Linked DNA regions of Homo sapiens: all the other regions are linked to region 4. The links are contacts of gene promoters, found by promoter capture Hi-C in blood cells and fetal thymus (Javierre and others, 2016). All regions are on one chromosome and are shown on one strand. Each heading gives the region's core, a stretch centred on a gene start or on the middle of the fragment in contact. The rest is flanking DNA. Distances are from core to core; before and after follow the strand shown. Region 1 overlaps CDK6 (cyclin dependent kinase 6). Region 2 overlaps CDK6 (cyclin dependent kinase 6). Region 3 overlaps CDK6 (cyclin dependent kinase 6). Region 4 holds the start of SAMD9 (sterile alpha motif domain containing 9). Region 5 overlaps CDK6 (cyclin dependent kinase 6).

Evidence for each region. The method cuts DNA at HindIII sites, captures the fragments that hold promoters and counts their contacts. A CHiCAGO score of 5 or more calls a contact.
Region 1: a contact is called between a fragment that was not itself captured here and the fragment with the promoter of SAMD9 in region 4, in 1 of 17 cell types (fetal thymus). The highest score is 5.2, in fetal thymus.
Region 2: a contact is called between a fragment that was not itself captured here and the fragment with the promoter of SAMD9 in region 4, in 1 of 17 cell types (M2 macrophages). The highest score is 5.8, in M2 macrophages.
Region 3: a fragment that was not itself captured here is called in contact with the fragment with the promoter of SAMD9 in region 4 in 1 of 17 cell types (fetal thymus); the score reaches 6.5 in fetal thymus.
Region 5: a fragment that was not itself captured here is called in contact with the fragment with the promoter of SAMD9 in region 4 in 4 of 17 cell types (total CD8 T cells, M0 macrophages, total CD4 T cells and 1 more); the score reaches 7.5 in total CD8 T cells.

What each region holds. Positions count from the first base shown.
Region 1 is chr7:92,676,134-92,681,198 of GRCh38, reverse strand. All of the region lies in intron 4 of CDK6 (cyclin dependent kinase 6), which reads left to right. Among named protein-coding and RNA genes, the nearest start is that of FAM133B, 88 kb to the right of the region's middle. The HindIII fragment of the contact is 3,494 bases long and covers 1-3,157 here.
Region 2 is chr7:92,632,811-92,637,375 of GRCh38, reverse strand. The region is part of intron 5 of CDK6 (cyclin dependent kinase 6); the gene reads left to right. Among named protein-coding and RNA genes, the nearest start is that of FAM133B, 45 kb to the right of the region's middle. The HindIII fragment of the contact is 5,319 bases long and covers 1-4,565 here.
Region 3 is chr7:92,810,525-92,815,133 of GRCh38, reverse strand. All of the region lies in intron 2 of CDK6 (cyclin dependent kinase 6), which reads left to right. Among named protein-coding and RNA genes, the nearest start is that of CDK6-AS1, 24 kb to the left of the region's middle. RefSeq lists an enhancer at 4,553-4,609. The HindIII fragment of the contact is 1,118 bases long and covers 1,781-2,898 here.
Region 4 is chr7:93,114,847-93,120,045 of GRCh38, reverse strand. It overlaps SAMD9 (sterile alpha motif domain containing 9), which reads left to right and starts at 2,067. Exons shown (of 3, transcript NM_017654.4): 1 at 2,067-2,183; 2 at 5,151-5,199. The HindIII fragment of the contact is 4,352 bases long and covers 1-2,273 here.
Region 5 is chr7:92,610,073-92,614,879 of GRCh38, reverse strand. CDK6 (cyclin dependent kinase 6) reads left to right here. Exons shown (of 8, transcript NM_001145306.2): 8 at 1-4,807. Among named protein-coding and RNA genes, the nearest start is that of FAM133B, 22 kb to the right of the region's middle. The HindIII fragment of the contact is 162 bases long and covers 2,961-3,122 here.

The DNA.
Region 1 (5,065 bases), core at 161-2,660, 440 kb after region 4:
ATCAGGTAGTGCTCTTCCCTCCACAGGATCATTTCCTCTGTTAAAGATACATGATTACTCAAAGATATTAAGTTATTATGGGACAGTATTGTCCTCATATTCTCCAGTCTAGGTGATTGCCTCTATCCATCTTCAGCACTGCCACTGGGAGTTTCCTGTGGTTATTGATGTATCTAGCTATCAGATAATTACTGAGCACCTTCCATGCATGACACTGTAAATGTATTGTGGCCAAGAAATGGAAAAGCTATAATGCAAGATAGAAAGGGTCAAGTACTATAGAAGTGCAGTGGAAGCTCAGAGAAGAGCCATTACTTCCAGCTGGGAGATCAGGAAAGGCTTTGTGGATGAAGCAATATGTGAGTGAGGCTTGAAAGATGGGTAGGATCTGGACCTGCAGAGACTCAGAGAAAGAGAATCCCAGAGAGAGAATCAGAGAACCACACCAGCAATAGCAGGTGATGGGACATCCACATATCTAAAGGGAGCCAGTGGCCCCATGTGAGCCAAGGCAGCTGTAGATGTGAGGAAATACAGCCCTTCTGCTGGTAATGGATGCATCAGAGCAGAGGTGAGGACAAAGTTATTGGCACAGCGCTCCCTGCTGTGAGACTCTCATCTTTGTATTGACCTCAGACATTTTTTTGCCATATGTCAAAACATCTCCTTCTAGCCCTTAGATTACAAATGGGTGAATTTGAGATGACTCCATTATTATTTTATGGGTATTTAATGCTTTTTTTTTTTTTTTTTTTTTTTTTTTCTGAGATGGAATTTCACTCTTGTTGGCCCAGGCTGGAGCGCAATGGTGTGATCTCGGCTCACCGCAACCTCCACCTCCTGAGTTCCAGCGATTCTCCTGCCTCAGCCTCCTGAATAGCTGGGATTACAGGCATGCACCACCATGCCCGACTAATTTTGTATTTTTAGTAGAGACGGGGTTTCACCATGTTGGTCAGGCTGGTCTCGAACTCCCAACCTCAGGTCATCCGCCCTCCTCAGCCTCCCAAAGTGCTGGGATTACAGGTGTGAGCCACCACACCTGGCCAGTATTTAATTCTTAATAGTTTCCATAACCAGTTAAGGTGTTATAATGAGAAGACTGTGCTTGGCAGAATTAGAATTCCAATTCTTTATAATATTCTTCATTTAAATATGTAATTTTGAAGAACTAAATTATGGCCGGGCACGATGGCTCACACCTGTAATCCCAGCACTTTAGGAGGCCAAGGAGGGCGGATCACTTGAGGTCAGGAGTTCGAGACCAGTCTGGGCAACATGGCGAAACTCTGTCTCTAAAAATACAAAAAATTAGCCGGGCATGGTGGTGCACGCCTGTAATCCCAACTACTGGGGAAGCTGAGGCAGGAGAATCACTTGAACCCGGGAGACCGAGGTTGCAGTGAGCCGAGATCACACCACTGCACTCCAGCTTGGGCTATAGAGTGACACTCTGTCTCGAAAAAAAAAAGAAGTAAATTTTGCACCTCTGTGAAAAGTCAGTGAAATTATCACTAGTTTTGATTTTCACTTCACACAACCATACTAGTTTTCTATAGGGAGAAAAACATATGTATTAGAAAGTTTTATATTGCTCTGATGCAAATAAACAGATTAGAGCACAGTTTAGAAAACCTTCACTTTGACAAAATAAAGATTCTGAAGTATTTCAAAGATTATATTTATATTCCTGATAAACCATTATCTATGTTTGTATTTGAGACATGTTGTTGAAGTGGGCCCGAGAAGGAGAATATCACCACACTGGAACACTCCATAAGTAATTACTAAACCAAAGGACAGCAAAGATATTTAACGATAACGTTGTTGGGTCCATAAAGTATATATGTTTTTTTAAATCTTCATTGCCATTGCCATATCATTTAGGGAGTCTTAAAATGTTAACAGAGGACACCTTATAGATTACCCAGTCCAAACATCTTCTTTAACAGATGAGAAAACTGAAACTTGGAGAAGAAGTTGCCACCCACGCTGGTTTCTCCATCTATAAACAGGATGTATCAGCCAGGGTCCCAACAGGAAATAGATGGCACACTCAAACTCAAGTAGTTCAAGGATTTCTTGACACAGGCATGATTTGCAGAGATGTGGGCTTAGGGGAACTCAGGGGATGGTGCTATGACCTGAGTCTTACTCGCAGTCAGTTCATTACCATTCCCAGGCCCTAGAAGAAGAGGGGAAGCAGTTACTGGAATCCAGGAGGAAGAAAGCAAGTAGAGCAGGCTTCCTGAGATGGACATTGACTTTGTGGTGGCAACACAGTCAGTTCTAGACAGCTTTGCTGGGAGGAAAATCAAAGAGTTGAGGATCCTGACCTCATGCTTCTCCTTCTCTCTGAATTCCTGCCGAGACTTCCCATTGGCCAAAGCCAGTAAGAAACTGGAGGCATATGGCAGATACAGGTCCATTTCTAGGGCAGAGACTATCTGGGGCAACAAAAAGAAGACATCCAGCACAGTGTTCATACCATGCTTTTCTGCCATTGTGGCCATATAATGAGGATGAATCAGATAACATCTAATTTTTTCAAGACCTTGGTGAAAGGGTACATGATAAAAGATTGTTAAATATAACATCAAGTGAGAGCGGTTTACTCTGAAATGTATTTTAAGTCAGAGTTGGCCTTGGCTGTACTTTTTCTTATACTATTATTGAACAGGTTCAAAAAAATGTGAATAGAGATCAAAGCAGTTTAAACAGATACATCCACTTGTGTAAATATCCTTGAACTCCCCCCTGCCTTCCGCTCCCCCTCCTGTTGCCACATCCATTCAGCACCTCTAGAGGCTGTTAATACATGTAATGATTGTAATAAACATGGTATTTGCTTTGGTTCCAGCTGGCTCCAATCACCAAACTCTGTCCATAATTCCTATTGTCTTTGCTTACTAGACAACTGCATTGTTACCATTAGTAGCGACTTTTGTTACGGATTTCTAAATGTTGATCTTTATATATTGCACTCATTGTTTTCCTCAACATGTTTTAAAATTTAAATTTACCATTATATTTTCTTTTTAAGGATATTTAGAATTATTAAACAGAACTTCTGGTAGAATTGATTATATTGTTGAGAACTTTCACGAGCTAAAACCTTGAAACAATTTTATTGATATTATTCATTCTTTATAAAGCTTTCAAATAAAAATAAGCTTCTGCTCATGCATGACTTAAACTGGTTTTAAGTTCAGCAGTCTTCCATCAGAAGTTTTTAGAGGCACAGAAGTATAATAATGTCTAAGCAAAGGGAATTTATATTTTACTGTCAGGAAAATTTGTTGCAATTTGTTCTCAAAAACTTGGATCCAGATTTAGTTGCAGTAGATATTTTAAATCCTATGAAATTACAGAAGTTGTCATAATTTGAGATAATTAAAATTTCAGTGACTTAATGTAGGGACTGAAAGACTGTGGTTCAGAAATTATAGAACAGCCAAGTAAATTAACAAATTAAAACTGGGGATGCTCTCTTGATATATAGAATAATATTACATAAACCAGGAAACAACTATTAGAAAATGCTATTCTTTTATATCTATTGCAAAATATAGTAGTTTGTTTTCCTTTTTTTTGAGACAGTCTTGCTTTTCACCCAGACTAAAGGGATACAATCTCACTGCAACCTCCACCTCCCAGGTTCAAGCAATTCTCCTGCCTCAGCCTCCCTATTAGCAGGGATTACAGGCGTGTGCCACCACACCTGGCTAATTTTTTTTATTTTTAGTAGAGACAGGGTTTCGCCATGCTGCCCAAGCTGGTCTTGAACTCCTGACCTCAAGTGATCCGCCTGCTTCAGCCTCCCAAAGTGCTGGGATTACAGGCATGAGCCACCACGCCTGGCCCAGTAGTTTGTTATTTTTAAATGTAGGCCCAGGTCATTGATGGGGTTATTTTATTAGAGAATTAACTAGAAATGTAAGTCTTGAACAATTTATACTTTCTTTTGGAATTGAATTCCTCAAAGATTGAACCAAAAATGATGTCTCTTTAGACAGATGTTGATAGTTTAAAATAGAGTGTAAGCATAAAGTTAGTCTAATTTCACTCTCACTTGGTTACAATGATTTACACAGACTAGAGCAAAATCTTAAGGATAAAAACGAGATATCTAAATTTTAGCTTTCATTGAACTTATTAAATGTGAAGTGATGAGTAGATGTCATATCATATAGAGAACTGGAAAGTAATGGAAACGCTTTTCTTTCTTTTTTTTTTTTTTTTGAGACGGAGTCTCTCTGTCGCCCAGGCTGGAGTGCAGTGGCGCGATCTCAGCTCACTGCAAGCTCCGCCTCCCGGGTTCACGCCATTCTCCTGCCTCAGGCTCCCCAGTAGCTGGGACTACAAGCGCCCACCAGAGTTGTAAATTTTGCAACTCTGTGAAAAGTCAGTGAAATTATCACTAGTTTTGATTTTCACTTCACAAAACCATACTAGTTTTCTTTAGGGAGAAAAACATATGTATTAGAAAGTTTTGTATTGCTCTGATGCAAATAAACAGATTAGAGCACAGTTTAGAAAACCTTCACTTTGACAAAATAAAGATTCTGAAGTATTTCAAAGATTATATTTATATTCCTTATAAACCATTATCTATGTTTGCATTTGAGATACTGGGGGAAGGAAAACAGAAACTCAACTCTCTTTTAGAGTTTGACAAATGAAGTATAGAAAAATATAAGTAAGGATTTATATAAGACAAACCCTTATCAATAAAGAACTTTACAAAGACAGTACTTCCATTACACTCCCAGAACAAAAACCAAGTATATACATCATTTTAAAGAAAACAACAATAAATCCTACCAAGTAGAAATTGTACAGATCATAGTCTCTGTTGTAATTCAATAAAAGTAGAAATTCAACCATTCAAAGATAGCCATAAATAACCTGACCATATGGACATCTTAAAACACTTTTCTAAATTAAAGATAAATTACATAGTATTTAAAGATGAGCAAAAATGAGAAAAGTTTATCTACAAATATGTAGTTAGCATTTTATTATTAATTAAAATGGAAAAGAAATGAGCTAAATTTTAACTCAA
Region 2 (4,565 bases), core at 828-3,327, 480 kb after region 4:
GGAAAATGTGTCCCTCAGTTACAATGCCAAGACTACGAGTGATGATCAAGAAGTCTAACTGGTCAGTAATTAAACTTTATATTGGAAGTAGACATTTATTTGCTTAATATTCCAAAATCTGACTAAATTGTTTTCTAAATTCAAAAGGAGTTTTTGAGTAAAACAGTCAGTTGCTATTTAACCCGTAGGTCTGTAAAACCTGGCAGCCCTCTGTGGCCACATAGTCTTAAGTACAGTATAGAAGAAATACCTCCCAAGGCTTTTGTTTTATGTCTACATATTCATCTCTTTCTAAAACCGTAAGTGTAGCAACATGTGGCTGCATTTTTAACAACTTTTATTGCACTTTCATATTAAAAAGCAATATACCAGCAAAATTTTTGAAGTTTTCATTTAGGAAAATACAATCGGGCTGGGCGCAGTGGTTCACACACCTAAATCCCAGCACTTTGGGAGGCCGAGGTGGGCAGATCACCTGAGGTCAGGAGTTCGAGACCAGCCTGGCTAACATGGCAAAACCCCATCTCCACTAAAAATACAAAAATTAGTCAGCATGGTGGCGCATGCCTGTAATCCCAGCTACTTGGGAGGCTGAGGCAGGAGAATCGCTTGAACCCAGGAGGCAGAAGTTGCAGTGAGCCAAGATTGCGCCACTGCACTCCAGCCTGGGCACTCCGTCTCAGGGGAAGAAGAAAACATATTTCATAAATATTTTATCTTTTTTAACATATATTTTTACCAAAATGTAATTATTTATTCCTGTACATGCTGTTTTTTATCAAATGCTGTTTCATTTCTTATGAGTGACATAAAGCCTTTGCCGGTGATATTTTTCTCTTATAGTTATAAAATCAAAAATATGACAGAGAGTTGTACCTCTCTAGAGAATGTATAATGCAAATGGATCTTATATATAATCATATCCCCTCAGCCTTCTCATTCTTGTAAGTTCATTTGCTTCATAAATAAACTAAATAGTTTGTACTGAAACCAGAAGTTGACCTTAATATTTGTGTTGGCTGGGCACAGTGGTGCACGCCTGTAATCCCAGCACTTTGCGAGGCTAAGGCAGCAGATCGCTTGAGCTCAGGAGTTCGAAACCAGCCTGAGCAACATGGCAAAACCCTGTCTCTACAAAACAAAAAATACAAAAATTAGCCTGGTGTGGTGGCATGCCCCTGTGGTCCCAGCTACTCAGGAGGCTGAGGTGGGTGAATGATTGACCCAGAAAATGGAGGCTTCAGCAAGCTGAGATCACTTCACTGCACCCCAGCCTGGGCAACAGAATGAGATCTTGTCTCAAAAAATAATAATAATAACAAATTTAAAAATATTTCTTATAACTTTTTTTTAAATGTGCTACGGATAGATTGCATTTAAATACTTGATAAAATAGTATTGTTTAGAAATCATGATTAGCAAAACTGATTACAGCTCCTGCTCTTATCACGTCCCTGACTATGTCTAAGTTACAGAATCTTCTCAGCCATAGTCCTCACCTAAATAAGGAAACGCATTTATCCCCTTATTTGTCATTTTCCTAACTTCATCATCTATAAAGTTTTCTTAGTGATCTTTTTAAATAGCACAGCACGGTATCATGGGTAAATTAAATCTAGAGATTTGGGCCAAAGATAGGACCAAAATAACAGCATTGAATTTTCCTTGCATATTTAGTCATAATGAAACAAGGAAAAGAAACCACAGGACAGAGAAAAAGGAGAAGGAAATACAGTATTAAGCAAAAATAAATAACTTTGGAACGAGTAACAGTTCATTCTATTTGTTCTTGATTGGTAGCCTTACTTTTACTGAGCAGGTTAATTTTATTTCTCAGCAGTTTTAACTGCTTCATTCACATGGTTTATTATTTTGTGTTATTTTCTTCCATGATATGGAGTACGACAGAAGCTGTGATATCTGTTTTTTAGCAGATGAGCAGAGATTAAGTGGCCTGCCTGCACTCTGGGATTTATTTGTTAATCAGTTACAGAGCCAGCACTAAGAGCTGGATCTTCTGTCTCCTGGTCTATACTCCTTTCCATAACATGTGGTAAAGTGCTTCTCCCTTGTTCTGAAGAAATCCCTACAGGGAACCTAACACTGCCCTGATCTGGAAACAACATTGTTACCTGACAGGCCGGTTTGCCAGGGTGACCATTCTTAAGTGTTTTAGGGAGCTAGGATTAATCTTTTTTTCCCAAGAGGAAGTAGCAATAAACTGTGCACCAAAAATAACGCTTTAGCTGCTAAATTCTGCTTAGTAGGTGGTTTCCCAAAGATGATCCAATGCAATGAGTCATCCCTCTGAGCACTTACTGCACATTATTTCTTTTTACTAATCCTCGGTGCTTTTGGTTGCATGTTTTTTAACCTTTAGAGCCCTCCTGGGAGGTTCAGAGTCTTCTCACTATGAATATAAAACAGACTCTACTACATCCCCCCACATGTCCCTCTTGTCCTTTACTTCCTATACTTTTCAAATCTAAGATAATCCATCACTTAGGAGAACAGTCAGGATCATGTCCAAAGATAAAAGATCAGCAGTAAGTTTCTCCAGAGTTAGCAGCAGCTCCATCTCATTCCCAGTATAAAAATCAAAAATGTAGATGGATGTAAGTCAATGTGTAGAACCCATATCAAGAAAACTATAAAACTTGATTGAGATACATAAAAATGACTTTCCTAGATATAGAGAATATTTGATTATTAGAAAGATATTAAATATTCCATTTTCCTGAACAGGAAGATTGAATAGTTGTAAGGATATAAAAGGTTTCCAAATTAATTCATAGGTTTATGCAACTCCAGTCAGAATTCCAGTGGGATTTCCTGAAATGCATTTGGAAGAGTTAAACTGGTGAAAATAGCCAAGAATTTTTTGTTACCAAAAAAAAAAAGTTATGAAGAGAAACTCCTGCTACCAAGCACTAAAATACATTATGCAACTACAGTAATAAAAATAATGTGGTACCAGCAGAAGTGACAGACATTAATGGAACAGAATAGAGAATGAGACTTGAAACCCTAATTTAGGAAGTGATGCAATTTATCATAAATCACAAATCTGGGAGGACAGAACGGCATATGCAACAAATGAGAATAGGGTAATTGGTCAATTTCATGGGGGAAAAATGGTAACCTGATTAGATTCTCACTATTCCTCACCACAGAGCAAATGACAGATGGCTTAAAGAGTTACATATTAAAAGTGAAGCCATAAAAGAATAAAGAAACTATAGGAAGTATCTGTGACCCTAGAATGGAGATATATTTTCAAAGCATTAAGAAGTCACAAACAAAAATACTAATATATTTGATTATATAAAAATTGAAAACTTTTGTTCATCAGAAAATAAAAACACTGCCAAGTTAAAAAGCATGTGATAATCTTGGAGAAAATGAATGAATATGACAAAGGTGTAATATCCTTAATGAATAAAAGAGCTCTTAAAATTAATTGGAAAGCCACTAGCACACCCCACTGTAGCTACACTACATTCCTATCACACTGTGTACATATCACAGTGCTAAATCATTTTATACTCATAATACAGTTCAGATGACACAAGACAGTATTAGAAATTCAGATCTTATTTTCCATTCACATATTCTTTGTCCAAAGGCAGTTTAAGGAAACTAACACATTACATTATGCTATAAATACTTCAGAACAGTTTGTCCACATTGACACTTCCATTTCCTAAAATGAAACCCTCGCTGGCCCACAGAGGGAAAAAAAAAAAAAAAAGGCTAGCTTTGTTAACCAGCTTTATTTCAACAAGCACATCCACATGGTAAGAACTTCCTCTGATGAGTCATCCACAGTTGTCAAACACCAACTTTCCTTTGTTTGGCCCATGCAGAAATCAGGTCTGTGGAAGCACAGTTCAAGAGTCTGAATCATTTAATTGTGTTTTATTCATATCTGAATTTGCATCTGTCACAAACCCAATGTGTCCACCGTGAAAAATTGCATCCTTCAAATATTACTGAACAAAAAACCCTATTCAAATAGGTCTGTTCTGTCTAGATTGTCTGTGAAATTTCTGAGGAATGTTGTGGGCTCTGTTTCCTGTACCAAATTGTTGAGTTATCACACATCATTGGATTCTACCCAAAGTGTGCTGGATAGGCATATTATATTCAGACAGGATACCAGTTGTCTTTACCATTCATAAAGGAAAAAGAAAAGATTACTCCTGCTCCCTGCCATAAGATATAAACTAAGAAGTGAAAATGTGTGTACCCATAGTTTTTTTAATGTGTCCTTGATTTCTTTTCTTCACCAAGATTTGAGTTTTATTCAGTCATAGCTTTGTTATGCACTTTCTTGTCACCCTGTACTTGTTCAAAACTAAGGACTATAGTCAAGACTCAGATCCTGCCCTGGGATTGGTGCCATCTTAGCTTGTTTGGAAAAAAAAAAAAAAAAAAAAAAAGATCTTTAGAGATACCATCATATCCATTTGTATATAAAAAGAGAAAAGAATGGAAGTGATGCTGTGTAATTTATTTTCATCTATTTACTCTATTTTCCAAATTTTCCACAATGCGTATATATT
Region 3 (4,609 bases), core at 1,090-3,589, 310 kb after region 4:
GACATTTAGTTGACTCCCCTGAATGTGGGAAGAAAATGGCTGCCCTTCTTCCTCCCTTTTTCCATTGCACCTGTTGACTCGTAGTCCAGCTTCTGCTTCCTCCACGGTGCCCTCATGGCTTGTTCTAGGGCAGTGGCCTCCCTTCTAGTAAAAATATTTGAGCATGTCACTGATATTCACTGAATTATAAAAATTATGTACATATACAGATATATTATTATATATTTAATAAAAATAATGATTTTGAAATGAAGGGGTACAAAATACCTAAAAATAGAAGATATTTTCTTAATACATCTCCTGATTATATGTTCTTCACTTTGGAGACTACTATCTCTTTGGTGACTTCTTCCATCACCTTATTTCTGTTTATTTTCAGTCACCCAGCAAATTTACTAAATTCTCTCCTTTTTGTGTATGTGGGACGCCCTTTTGTAATTATGGGTTTATTTCTTTTACTGAGAAAGAATGGAGGCAAATATTTGTGATAGGTCCACCATTTTGAACTGGAAGTCTGATTACACTTCTTAAAATAAATTTTTGAATAATCAAAATGTCTTTTTTTTTTTTTTTTTTTTGCAATTCAGTTTGCTTTCCTGGTTGGGAGCAGAAGGGCTGCAGCCCAAGAATTGCTTATTACCTGCGGGAAGTTTTTGTTATGCAGCAGTTCTTAAATTTGGGTAATGTCAAAGGGCATGTGAACCAAGGAAGTTGTCTGCTAATTTCACCAGAAGCAAAAAAGTTTAAGAACAGCTGCTCTGGAGAAATATTGGGATCACATGAGATATACTTTTCCCCTATTTATTCCACATTCCTTAATTTAGAGGACAGTATAACCATCTGGAGAGGATCCATAATTGAAGAAAGAACATTGTTTCATTCTTCTGTTGCTGATTGCACCTGGCTATATAAATTCATTGTCATCTTCTAGGTTTTCATACTGTTGATATACCATCCCTGAAACCAACAGCTGATATAAATTGTAACATAGAAAAGCTAATTTGACATCATATTGGGAATGTTAGCCAATTGATTTTTCTTAAGGGAAACAAACTGAAAAAATAAGCCCACTATGAATTAATTCTTTGCAGGAAATTCCCATGTCTGATTATTTAAAAGAATAAATTCTGCATGCAAATGAATCATTACAAGCTTAATTGAAGCTTGCGGGATACTCAAGTTTACTCACTGTGGTGTGTTTTTGATGGAGACAGGAAGTGAAAAAGCAAGGTCTATGAGACTTTTTTTTCCTATGAAGTCTCAGCCAGTCTTTTAATGTTTCTCATTGAGAAACTTTGGTTGGGAGGGTAAATGACTCAAGGTATCTATTGCTGCTTAGCCGTTTTTAAGGGGGCATTTCCCCCCATGTTCCTCCCCTCCCCAAAATAGCTAATTATGTACTGGAAGTTTCAATACATTGTTCACAGTTTGTGAAGTCAGCATATTTCTGGAAGCTCACTGTGAATGTAATTCTTAACTGTACAAATGCTTTTGTTTCTCCATCTCTGCAGCTAGCTCTGTACTGTAAGGACACAATTCTATCGCTATTTTTTCCCTCACATTTGATGTGGTAGTTTGCATACAGCTGCAGAGTAGACAGTTACCTTTGAAAGGAACATTTGGCTGCTCTAATTTGATTAAAGAAAACCACCTCAATCATTTCTAGACTGAGAACGTTTTCATTTTAACTTGGCAGTAGGAGTTGGGAATGTACTCATTGCACTTAGATATGTGGGGGACCAGTTAGGGAACAAAACCAACTGCTTGAATGAAGAAAGCTTTGGTGCATTTTTTTTTTAAAAGCAAGCAGTATGATTCCCTTTCTGTTTCCCTCTCAAATTCTCTACAACCTTGATTTTCACCTCCATCTTCTTTTCACGGTTATTTACTTTGTAATTCCAGTAAACGAATTCTGGCAGGAATAGACTGCTACCCTAAAGTGATTTGTGATTTAAAGGACTTCAGGGTCCTTAAAAATTATCCCATTTTACATAGAAATAAAATCCCAAATCATGAATTACTATGAATTGCATATATTTTCTTGGCCACTGTTGAGAAAGGCAAAAAAAGTTGTTAGATCATGGGTGTACAGACCAAGGCTGGGAATTTAGTTGTAACTTACTTAGAAGAAAATTGCTCCTTGTCAGAAGGCTGCAGTCAACTCACATATATGCCCTTTGTTTCTGACATAGAAGAGGGTCTGATCACCAAATTAGTATGACAATTAAAAATAAATTCTGGTGATTGTGAATTGGCATCAACTTTATATATGTTTTTAGAAATGATTGAGCAGTGGTTAATGTCTGTACGGTAAACCATGAACAAACTTTTGAACCACAGCTCAGTAATTCAATATATGATATCCTTGTGAAAGGTACTGTGCTGTCATCTTAAAAAGTTTGAGTGTGGGCCAGGCACAGTGGCTCATGTGTGTAATCCCAGCACCTTGGGAGGCTGAGGTGGGAGGATTGCTTGAGGCCAGGAATTTGAGACCAGCCTGGGCAACGTAGTGAGACCTCATTTCTACAAAAAATATTTCCTAAAATTTAGCCAGGTATAGTGGCACTCACCTCTGGTCCCGGCTACTCTGGAGGCTGAGGTGGGAAGATCAAGGCTTGAGCCTAGGAGTTTGAGGCTGCAGTGAGCCATGATCACACCACTTGACCCCAACCTGGGAGACAGAGCAAGACCCTGTCTCAAAAAAAAAAAAAATTGAATGAGAAAATTTAAATTAAAAGTCTGAAGCTACACATGGGCCTCAGAAATAACAAACACTATTACTTATTGATTATTGGATATTATTGATTACCTAAGAGAGGAGGTCAAATGTGGGTTCACATTCCAGTTCTGCCACATGACTATGTGTCTTAACCCCATTATGCTTCCTACCTCTAAGCTTCAATGTCTTCATTTGTAAAATTAGGACACATATTAAGTGATGTCTCTGAAGTTAGGTACCTTTTAAGTGTTTTGTTTTGTTTTGTTTTGTTTTTTTGAGTTGGAGTCTCACTCTGTTGCTCAGGCCAGAGTGCAATGGCACCATCTTGGCTGATTGCAATCTCCACCTCCCAAGTTCAAGCGATTCTCCTGCCTCAGCCTCCTGAGTAGCTGGGATTACAGGCACATAGCTAATTTTTGTATTTTTAGTAGAGACAGGGTTTCACAGTGTTGGTCAGGCTGATCTCGAACTCCTGACCTCATGATCCTCCAGCCTTAGCCTCCCAAAGTGCTGGGATTACAGACATGAGCTGCTGCGCCTCGCCCTTTTAAGTGTTTGATACTTGTCAAGTACTTAGTTGCCTTACTTATTCCTCTCCTTCAGAATATTTTGTAGGGGGGTGGTTTTGTTAATAGGATTGGTGGCAGAACTTGACAAAATCTTCAAATTCTAATATTATGTGCATCTCTCATTCTCTTGGACAAAATGATTAAGTCCATTAGGAATCTCTCAAGTCTGCCTACTTTTTCTCTGGTTAAGTGTGACATTATATCAGGTAGTAGTTGCAAGGGCAAGGCATAGGTACTACGGACATAGGAGCTGTTCAACAAATGGTTGCTATTAGATGGAGTTACACTGTCATCTTGAATGCCACCTTCTGCCATCTTCAAGTGCTATAATTATTTCCACATTTAATCTCAAGACTGTTCACTCGAAGCCACCCCAGTTTGTTCTTCCTTCTGAGAGTCAAAGGCCAAGAAAGAATCTTTTCATTTTGTTTTTACACACGGTAAGGAGGGCGTAAATATTTTCAGCCACGTGTCTCAGTGTACAAGGATGGTGAAGGGACTAAAACGATGTTTGCCTAAAGTACCCTGCTACATTGGGGTTTGAGCACTCAGGATTTCTAGTAGATACAACATTATAACTGTAGTTGAATCCCAGGCTCGTTCACAATGCTTATTTATATAGCTGAAGAATGTCCAATGAGTAAAATACTGCAGAAAGCAATGCTGGAGACCTGTGGAAATTCTATGAGAAAATGCTGGGTACTGATTATTTATGTTACTTCAAATTTTCTTTCTCTCAATAAAGTATTATTTTGATATTTCTCCTATATAATTGCCTTTTTTTTTCTTTGGCGCTGGGGGGGTTCTCATTCTGTCACCGGGCGCGATCTCGGCTCACTGCAACCTCCGCCTCCTGGGTTCAAGCAATTCTCCTGCCTCACCCTCCTGAGTAGCTGGGACTACAGGCACGCACCACCATGCCCAGCTAATTGTTGTATTTTTAGATGGGGTTTCGCCATGTTGGCTAGGATGGTCTCAATCTCTTGACCTCGTGATCCGCCCACCTCAGCCTCCCAAAGTGCTGGGATTACAGGCGTGAGCCACTGCACCCGGCCTATAATTGCTTTTTTTGAAGTATATTTATATAGCCCTTTACTATTGAATTCTGCCCATCTACTTACTATTACTGTTTATCTTCTTATGTCACTTCCAACCTGGGTGACAACTTAAACATTCAAATCCAGTAAAATTATTGTATGTTTCTAATAAAATGCATAGAAGCTAGCCTGAGACTGAAGTTTTGTTTTTTAAAAAATATGTAATGAATTCATCACTTCTTTTCGTCATGACAGTTGTCTACTTCTTAAGTGCTGTTAATATA
Region 4 (5,199 bases), core at 818-3,317:
AAGTGTCGGCAAAGAGTCCTGTGATGTAATACATCTTCAGGTCTTTCAGCTGTGGATACCAGCACCTGCTCCAGTGGAGGTAGCAGGGGAGTGAAGTGGACTCTGTAAGGGTCCTTGGTTATATCTTCGTTAAATGCTCTGGTTTTGTGTTGGTTGGCCTCCAGCCAGGAGGTGGCATTTTCAAGAGTGCATTAGCTGTGGTACTATAGGGAGGAAGCAAACTTGACCTAGGGTCATCTAGTTATATATTCATGTTTCTGAGGCAGTGGGCAGAATATGTCCTTTGTCTTGCAACCAGGGCAGGTAAAGAAAGACCAACAGGTTGGGGCAGGCATAGGTGTGGCTGAGCTCAGACTCTTATTGGGTGGGGTCTGCTGCACTTGCTGTAGGGGGCGGGGGTGTGGTTCCCAGGCCAATGGAGTTATGTTCCCAGGGGGATTATGGCTGTCTCCACTGAGTGACATAGGACACCAGGGAAGTGGGGAAAAGCCAGCAGTCACAGGCCTCACCCCATTTCCACACAACCCACACTCCTAAAGGCCAGTCTCACTCCCACTGTGCCCCTGCCAACAACATCGAATCTATTTCCAGGCAGTCGGTGACCAGGGCTGAGAACTTGCCCCTGGCTATCAGCCTCCCTGCTGAGAAAGCAAGCAGACTCATGACTTTTCTTTTTGGCATCTCAGAGAAACTGCAGTGGCGATACAGTTCCTTCAAAGGGTCTGTGAATTCTCTTGGCTTTCCTGGTATGTTGCTGCAGTAATTCTTGAAGCAAAAGTTCATGATGTGAGTCTCCACATGCTGTCCTGTCTGTCCCAGCAGGAGCTGCAAGCTAGTCCTGCCTCCTCACCCTCACAGAACCACCAGAATAATGTTTGACCAAATATCTAGGCACTCTGTGGCCCGGTCAAGTTGACCCATAAAATTAACCATCACACTGGTCCCCATGCAAAGTGAAACCCAGGTTTTGGAGTTCAGGCCCAGGGTCCCCTTACGAGGAGGGCTCCTGAGGGTGATAAGTGTAATGGTCATATCTAGGCTGTCCTTCATAGCCACTTTCTTTCTTCCTAAACCTCAGGATTTAAGAGCACTGGCCTGAAACCTGGATTCGAATCTCTGCCATGTATTAGTTATGCAAACTTTAGCCATATTATTTAATCTCTATGCCTCAGTTTCTTCACCTTTAAAATTGAGATAAAAATAATCTCTACCTCAGGAGATTGTTGTGAAGAGTAATTAAGTTAATATGAAACATTTAGAACAATGCCTGGTACATGGTAAGCGCCCAATAAATATTTTAAAATAAATGTTTTTAAATGTTTTCATCTAAAACCAGTGTGAATCAGTTGTGGGATGTGGAAACCAAAAGCTAATTGAGCACACACAATAAATATCAGTACTTGCTGTTAGTTTTTAAAATATCAGCTATTTTTGTTGCTCTCACTCAGGCAGTTTTCTCTCTGGCCCTGACACTGACCTTAGAAAAGATAAATCTCTACAATGTGACCATCAGGTCTGCTGCAGCCCTGGTCTGCTCTGCAATAAATGAATTTAGCACTTATTGGGGTGCTCAAAGAAGTCCTATCCCTGAAAGACATTCTTTACACTTTAGGAAAACAGGAATGGACAGTAACTCCACCCTTAAAGGCCAGTGAAATATTGACCTAGAGTATCTCCAACCTGGTGCTCTACAAGGCTGGGACTGCAATGTAAACTCATATTCCCAAGGGATCAATTAAGCCAGAATATCCCACAGTTTGTCTATAACAAGACAATGGGGCTTTCTGCAGCCCTCAAAACTCTCAAGTGAGGAAAAATTGTTAAGCCTTCAGATTTTAACCAAGCAGACCAGAAGGTGGTATATAGCCATAGCTTATTAAAAAGCATTTCAGATAGAAAAGGCGGTGCTGTAATTTCAGATCTGAGAAATGAAACTGAAACCAAACCTATATTCTTCCTTCCCCAACCTCCCAGTTGTTAAACACGCCCTGCTGTTTCTGAGCCAATTAGAGCTTGCTGTGAGACAGAAGCAGAGAATACATAGACTTCCGTTAAAACCAGAATGAGGAAAATACTTTTCTCTAGCATCGTAGGAGGAAGAAAACAAACACATCAGATATTTTCAGCACTAAAAGAGATGGTTTTCCCCACATATATGTAAAAGAAATTTGCAAGACTACTGGGTAAGTACAATATCTATTATTAATATTGTTCTTACTATCTATAGCAGCATTTTATTGAATAGAAAGAAATATACTTTTCAATTAGAAGCTTCAAATATACCTCAAAACAAAAAATAGTATTCTAAGCCTAGAAATTCTAGACTATTTGTTGCTCTGACAGCAGTCTGCTTTATATTAGTTGAAAAATTAGTCATAACATTTCATTAAAGATGCAGTTGAAAACTACAGACACTTTTATTGATGAACTCTCCCAAGGCATACAGCATCTTCAGAAAGAACAAACAGGCCAGGTGTGGTAGCCTGTAATTTGAGCACTTTGGAAGGCAAGGACAGGAGAATTGTTTGAGGCCAGGAATTCAAAATTAGCTTGGGCAACATAGCAAGACCCTACCTAGCAAGATTCCTACCAAAAAAAAAAATAGCTGGATGTGGTGGCACGCAGCTGCAGTCTAGCTACTTTGGAGGCTGAGGCAGAAGGATTGCTTGAGCCCAGGAATTTAAGGTTACAGTGAGCTGTAATTGTACCACTGCACTCCAGCATAGGCAACAGAGTGAGACACTGTCTCAAAAACAACAACAACAACAACAACAACAACAACAACAAACGGAAAGATAGATAAAGAACAGGCAATGAAAACTTAAAAGTACTTTACTTTAATCAAATACAACTTCCACCATCTACTCTAAGAAATAGGTAGCTTCCAGAAAACAAAACTCTCTGAGAGCTTCTCAGATATTGTTGTCGGATGACATACATAGGAAGACAGACAGACAGATAGACTACTATGGGAAGTCTTTGGAATTAAGGCAGCTTTATGTTCCTGGCAAAAATACTAGGTTTATGTCTAATTTCTCCCCAAAGCAAACAGTAAGATAATGCAAGACGGTTGGAGGATCACATTTCTGAATAAAGGTCTGACCTTCAACTCCCTTCTAGAAAAGTTAACAAACCCTACAGTTTAACACCAACCAGAGTTAAAAAATGTATGTGGGTTCAATCAGTAACAAATAGTGTTTCCTACTAAGATGCTCAGAACCAAATTTTCAGGTCAGTTTTTAAAGTATACGGAATCAAAACCAGTAATTTTAGGTACTAATTTTACTCCCTCATTTCACCTTTTCTCCCCCTACCCTTATTTAGCCTTCCCCATGATTTCTTTACCTAAGGGTTTTAATATATGTGTGATCCTATATTACTTTCTAAATTACCTAAAAAACATTTTGGAACGAGAGGGTATAAAGAAATCATTAATATGTAAAATATCTATGAACAGTGGCATAAATACCTATGAATGCTGGCATATATTTTCTCCAAGAGTGACATCATCAACAATTTTTTTAAAATAATGTATTGAAAGGCACAGCTATCAATAATCTGACAAAAGCTTTAGGGGAAGAAGTGTGAAAGTGTAACCTGTTCAATGACATTTGAAATATTCATAGTGTCTCTAGTAGAGAAAACAGTCAAAAGTCACTTCTTTATTATTTGCTTACTTTCCCAACCAAATGTTCAGGCCCAGTTCTCCATCCCCCACACTCTTATATGAGAACCTGACTTTACGTTTTCACATATAATGGTATGTAGTTCTTGCATGAATCAAATAATCCATCTAATTCACCAGTCTCATAATCTAGTTTATGACATATCACCAGAGACTAAGGACTGTGTCTGTAAAACTGTGAAAGGTCCAAGTTGATGAAGGAAGTCAGGGAGACCCTAGGAAAAGGGTACTGGTGGGAAGCGGCGAGATGGGGGATGAGAGCCATAGGTATGAGGCCTCAGGAGCCAGCGCACGCTAGCAGCACAATAATCGGGGACCCCTGCTTTATGTGTTAAATAGTGTGGGTGCAACAAAAGTGAGCATACTTTCATAGGGTGGAGTAGACGTGACTCAGTAAATGGATACAAGAAAGTGACTCAGATAGAATGGTTACTAGACGAGGGTGTAGTCAGTTTTTAGACAACTCTAAAACCAGTATTGAATCAACACTGAGTGGGATGCAGAAGTCAAAAGTTCATAATCTGAGACTGCAATAATAAACACCTAGTAAAACTTTAGGACCTCACATACCATTGAATTCACAATTATCCTTGATTCATAACACACCATCATCTTTTTTATGCAAGTATCTCTTTTATTTTATTCATCCGTTTTATTTTCTAATGTATTTTGGAGGCATTATTGGCTTTTTAAATACAGTATAACTTGTATACAATGAACAAACTTAAGGGTAAGCCTTTATGAAATTTTAATATGTACTTATCTGTGCAACCGCTAGCCATATCAAGATATAAAATATTTCCATCACCCCTTCCCAGAAAATATCCACCCCCCAACATCAGTCTGACTTCTATGACAGATTACTTTTGCCTATTCTTAAACTATATAAGTAGAATTCTACAATATGTTTTCTGTTGTAACTGGCTTCTTTCACACAGTATGATGTGATATTCATTCATGTTGTTGCCTGTATCAGTACTTTAATAATTTTCATGAGAATTGCAGATCCAAAGAGTAGGTATATATTTAACTTCACAAAAACTGATAGTTTCTTGAAGTGGCTAAAACAATGTACATTCCCACAGACAGCATATGAGAGCTCCACTGACTCCACATCATCACCAACATTTGGCATTAACAGTCTTTAATTTTAGCCATTCTGGTAGGCATGTAGTATTATCTTGTTGTAATTTTACTTTGCATTTCCATTACGGTAAACATTTTGGAACACTTCTAATTGCACTTCATTAGACCCGCCCCTGTGACTATGAAAATCCCCACTGGTTTTCCTCCTCCCGGTAGGCCAAGTCTAATCCTTAAACCCAACCCCAAATCAACAAATGCCCCCAAAGCTTACATAGACAGGGATCTTTCCTCTCTGGAATTTTAGTTCATCCAGTCCTTGTCATCTGGTCTATTGATGACTTTGTGATTACTTAAAAATATGAGTTTTGCAATTTTTCAGATTTTGATCTCATGGTTGCAGTGGGTGAATAGGTGGCCTTTTGTGATCT
Region 5 (4,807 bases), core at 1,792-4,291, 510 kb after region 4:
GAGAAGCTGCTGACCAATTGTGCTGCCATTTGATTTTTCTAACCTTGAATGCTGCCAGTGTGGAGTGGGTAATCCAGGCACAGCTGAGTTATGATGTAATCTCTCTGCAGCTGCCGGGCCTGATTTGGTACTTTTGAGTGTGTGTGTGCATGTGTGTGTGTGTGTGTGTGTGTGTGTGTGTGTATGTGAGAGATTCTGTGATCTTTTAAAGTGTTACTTTTTGTAAACGACAAGAATAATTCAATTTTAAAGACTCAAGGTGGTCAGTAAATAACAGGCATTTGTTCACTGAAGGTGATTCACCAAAATAGTCTTCTCAAATTAGAAAGTTAACCCCATGTCCTCAGCATTTCTTTTCTGGCCAAAAGCAGTAAATTTGCTAGCAGTAAAAGATGAAGTTTTATACACACAGCAAAAAGGAGAAAAAATTCTAGTATATTTTAAGAGATGTGCATGCATTCTATTTAGTCTTCAGAATGCTGAATTTACTTGTTGTAAGTCTATTTTAACCTTCTGTATGACATCATGCTTTATCATTTCTTTTGGAAAATAGCCTGTAAGCTTTTTATTACTTGCTATAGGTTTAGGGAGTGTACCTCAGATAGATTTTAAAAAAAAGAATAGAAAGCCTTTATTTCCTGGTTTGAAATTCCTTTCTTCCCTTTTTTTGTTGTTGTTATTGTTGTTTGTTGTTGTTATTTTGTTTTTGTTTTTAGGAATTTGTCAGAAACTCTTTCCTGTTTTGGTTTGGAGAGTAGTTCTCTCTAACTAGAGACAGGAGTGGCCTTGAAATTTTCCTCATCTATTACACTGTACTTTCTGCCACACACTGCCTTGTTGGCAAAGTATCCATCTTGTCTATCTCCCGGCACTTCTGAAATATATTGCTACCATTGTATAACTAATAACAGATTGCTTAAGCTGTTCCCATGCACCACCTGTTTGCTTGCTTTCAATGAACCTTTCATAAATTCGCAGTCTCAGCTTATGGTTTATGGCCTCGATTCTGCAAACCTAACAGGGTCACATATGTTCTCTAATGCAGTCCTTCTACCTGGTGTTTACTTTTGTTACCTAAATAATGAGTAGGATCTTGTTTTGTTTTATCACCAGCACACAGATTGCTATAAACTGTTACTTTGTGAATTACATTTTTATAGAAGATATTTTCAGTGTCTTTACCTGAGGGTATGTCTTTAGCTATGTTTTAGGGCCATACATTTACTCTATCAAATGATCTTTTCTCCATCCCCCAGGCTGTGCTTATTTCTAGTGCCTTGTGCTCACTCCTGCTCTCTACAGAGCCAGCCTGGCCTGGGCATTGTAAACAGCTTTTCCTTTTTCTCTTACTGTTTTCTCTACAGTCCTTTATATTTCATACCATCTCTGCCTTATAAGTGGTTTAGTGCTCAGTTGGCTCTAGTAACCAGAGGACACAGAAAGTATCTTTTGGAAAGTTTAGCCACCTGTGCTTTCTGACTCAGAGTGCATGCAACAGTTAGATCATGCAACAGTTAGATTATGTTTAGGGTTAGGATTTTCAAAGAATGGAGGTTGCTGCACTCAGAAAATAATTCAGATCATGTTTATGCATTATTAAGTTGTACTGAATTCTTTGCAGCTTAATGTGATATATGACTATCTTGAACAAGAGAAAAAACTAGGAGATGTTTCTCCTGAAGAGCTTTTGGGGTTGGGAACTATTCTTTTTTAATTGCTGTACTACTTAACATTGTTCTAATTCAGTAGCTTGAGGAACAGGAACATTGTTTTCTAGAGCAAGATAATAAAGGAGATGGGCCATACAAATGTTTTCTACTTTCGTTGTGACAACATTGATTAGGTGTTGTCAGTACTATAAATGCTTGAGATATAATGAATCCACAGCATTCAAGGTCAGGTCTACTCAAAGTCTCACATGGAAAAGTGAGTTCTGCCTTTCCTTTGATCGAGGGTCAAAATACAAAGACATTTTTGCTAGGGCCTACAAATTGAATTTAAAAACTCACTGCACTGATTCATCTGAGCTTTTTGGTTAGTATTCATGGCTAGAGTGAACATAGCTTTAGTTTTTGCTGTTGTAAAAGTGTTTTCATAAGTTCACTCAAGAAAAATGCAGCTGTTCTGAACTGGAATTTTTCAGCATTCTTTAGAATTTTAAATGAGTAGAGAGCTCAACTTTTATTCCTAGCATCTGCTTTTGACTCATTTCTAGGCAGTGCTTATGAAGAAAAATTAAAGCACAAACATTCTGGCATTCAATCGTTGGCAGATTATCTTCTGATGACACAGAATGAAAGGGCATCTCAGCCTCTCTGAACTTTGTAAAAATCTGTCCCCAGTTCTTCCATCGGTGTAGTTGTTGCATTTGAGTGAATACTCTCTTGATTTATGTATTTTATGTCCAGATTCGCCATTTCTGAAATCCAGATCCAACACAAGCAGTCTTGCCGTTAGGGCATTTTGAAGCAGATAGTAGAGTAAGAACTTAGTGACTACAGCTTATTCTTCTGTAACATATGGTTTCAAACATCTTTGCCAAAAGCTAAGCAGTGGTGAACTGAAAAGGGCATATTGCCCCAAGGTTACACTGAAGCAGCTCATAGCAAGTTAAAATATTGTGACAGATTTGAAATCATGTTTGAATTTCATAGTAGGACCAGTACAAGAATGTCCCTGCTAGTTTCTGTTTGATGTTTGGTTCTGGCGGCTCAGGCATTTTGGGAACTGTTGCACAGGGTGGAGTCAAAACAACCTACATATAAAAAGAGAAAAAGAGAAACTTGTCCATTTAGCTTTCATAAGAAATCCCATGGCAAAGGGTAATAAAAAGGACCTAATCTTAAAAATACAATTTCTAAGCACTTGTAAGAACCCAGTGGGTTGGAGCCTCCCACTTTGTCCCTCCTTTGAAGTGGATGGGAACTCAAGGTGCAAAGAACCTGTTTTGGAAGAAAGCTTGGGGCCATTTCAGCCCCCTGTATTCTCATGATTTTCTCTCAGGAAGCACACACTGTGAATGGCAGACTTTTCATTTAGCCCCAGGTGACTTACTAAAAATAGTTGAAAATTATTCACCTAAGAATAGAATCTCAGCATTGTGTTAAATAAAAATGAAAGCTTTAGAAGGCATGAGATGTTCCTATCTTAAATAAAGCATGTTTCTTTTCTATAGAGAAATGTATAGTTTGACTCTCCAGAATGTACTATCCATCTTGATGAGAAAACTCTTAAATAGTACCAAACATTTTGAACTTTAAATTATGTATTTAAAGTGAGTGTTTAAGAAACTGTAGCTGCTTCTTTTACAAGTGGTGCCTATTAAAGTCAGTAATGGCCATTATTGTTCCATTGTGGAAATTAAATTATGTAAGCTTCCTAATATCATAAACATATTAAAATTCTTCTAAAATATTGCTTTTCTTTTAAGTGACAATTTGACTATTCTTATGATAAGCACATGAGAGTGTCTTACATTTTCCAAAAGCAGGCTTTAATTGCATAGTTGAGTCTAGGAAAAAATAATGTTAAAAGTGAATATGCCACCATAATTACTTAATTATGTTAGTATAGAAACTACAGAATATTTACCCTGGAAAGAAAATATTGGAATGTTATTATAAACTCTTAGATATTTATATAATTCAAAAGAATGCATGTTTCACATTGTGACAGATAAAGATGTATGATTTCTAAGGCTTTAAAAATTATTCATAAAACAGTGGGCAATAGATAAAGGAAATTCTGGAGAAAATGAAGGTATTTAAAGGGTAGTTTCAAAGCTATATATATTTTGAAGGATATATTCTTTATGAACAAATATATTGTAAAAATTTATACTAAGGTCATCTGGTAACTGTGGGATTAATATGGTCGAAAACAAATGTTATGGAGAAGCTGTCCCAAGCAAACTAAATTACCTGTACTTTTTTCCCATTTCAAGGGAAGAGGCAACCACATGAAGCAATACTTCTTACACATGCCTAAGAACGTTCATTGAAAAAATAAATTTTTAAAAGGCATGTGTTTCCTATGCCACCAATACTTTTGAAAAATTGTGAACCTTACCCAAAACCATTTATCATGTCCATTAAGTATATTTGGGTATATAATTAGGAAGATATTTACATGTTCCATCTCCACAGTGGAAAAACTTATTGAGGCTACCAAAGTGTGCCAAGAAATGTAAGTCCTTAGAGTAATTAGAAATGCTGTTTTCCTCAAAAGCATGAGAAACTAGCATTTTCATTTCTTATTTACTCCCTTTCTATATCAATGCAATTCACAACCCAATTTTAATACATCCCTATATCTCAAGCATTTCTATCTTGTACTTTTTCAGAAAATAAACCAAAAATAATCCTTTGGTCTCTCTATCTTCTGACCTTTGTAAGCAACAGAAATGTAAAAACAGAAGGGGTCCAATTTTTACACGTTTTTTTCTCAAGTAGCCTTTCTGGGGATTTTTATTTTCTTAATGAAGTGCCAATCAGCTTTTCAAAATGTTTTCTATTTCTCAGCATTTCCAGGAAGTGATAACGTTTAGCTAAATGAGTAGAAGTGGACTTCCTTCAACATATTGTTACCTTGTCTAGCCTTAGGAAGAAAACAAGAGCCACCTGAAAATAAATACAGGCTCTTTTCGAGCATCTGCTGAAATACTGTTACAGCAATTTGAAGTTGATGTGGTAGGAAAGGAAGGTGACTTTTCTTGCAAAAGTCTTTCTAAACATTCACACTGTCCTAAGAGATGAGCTTTCTTGTTTTATTCCGGTATATTCCACAAGGTGGCACTTTTAGAGAAAAA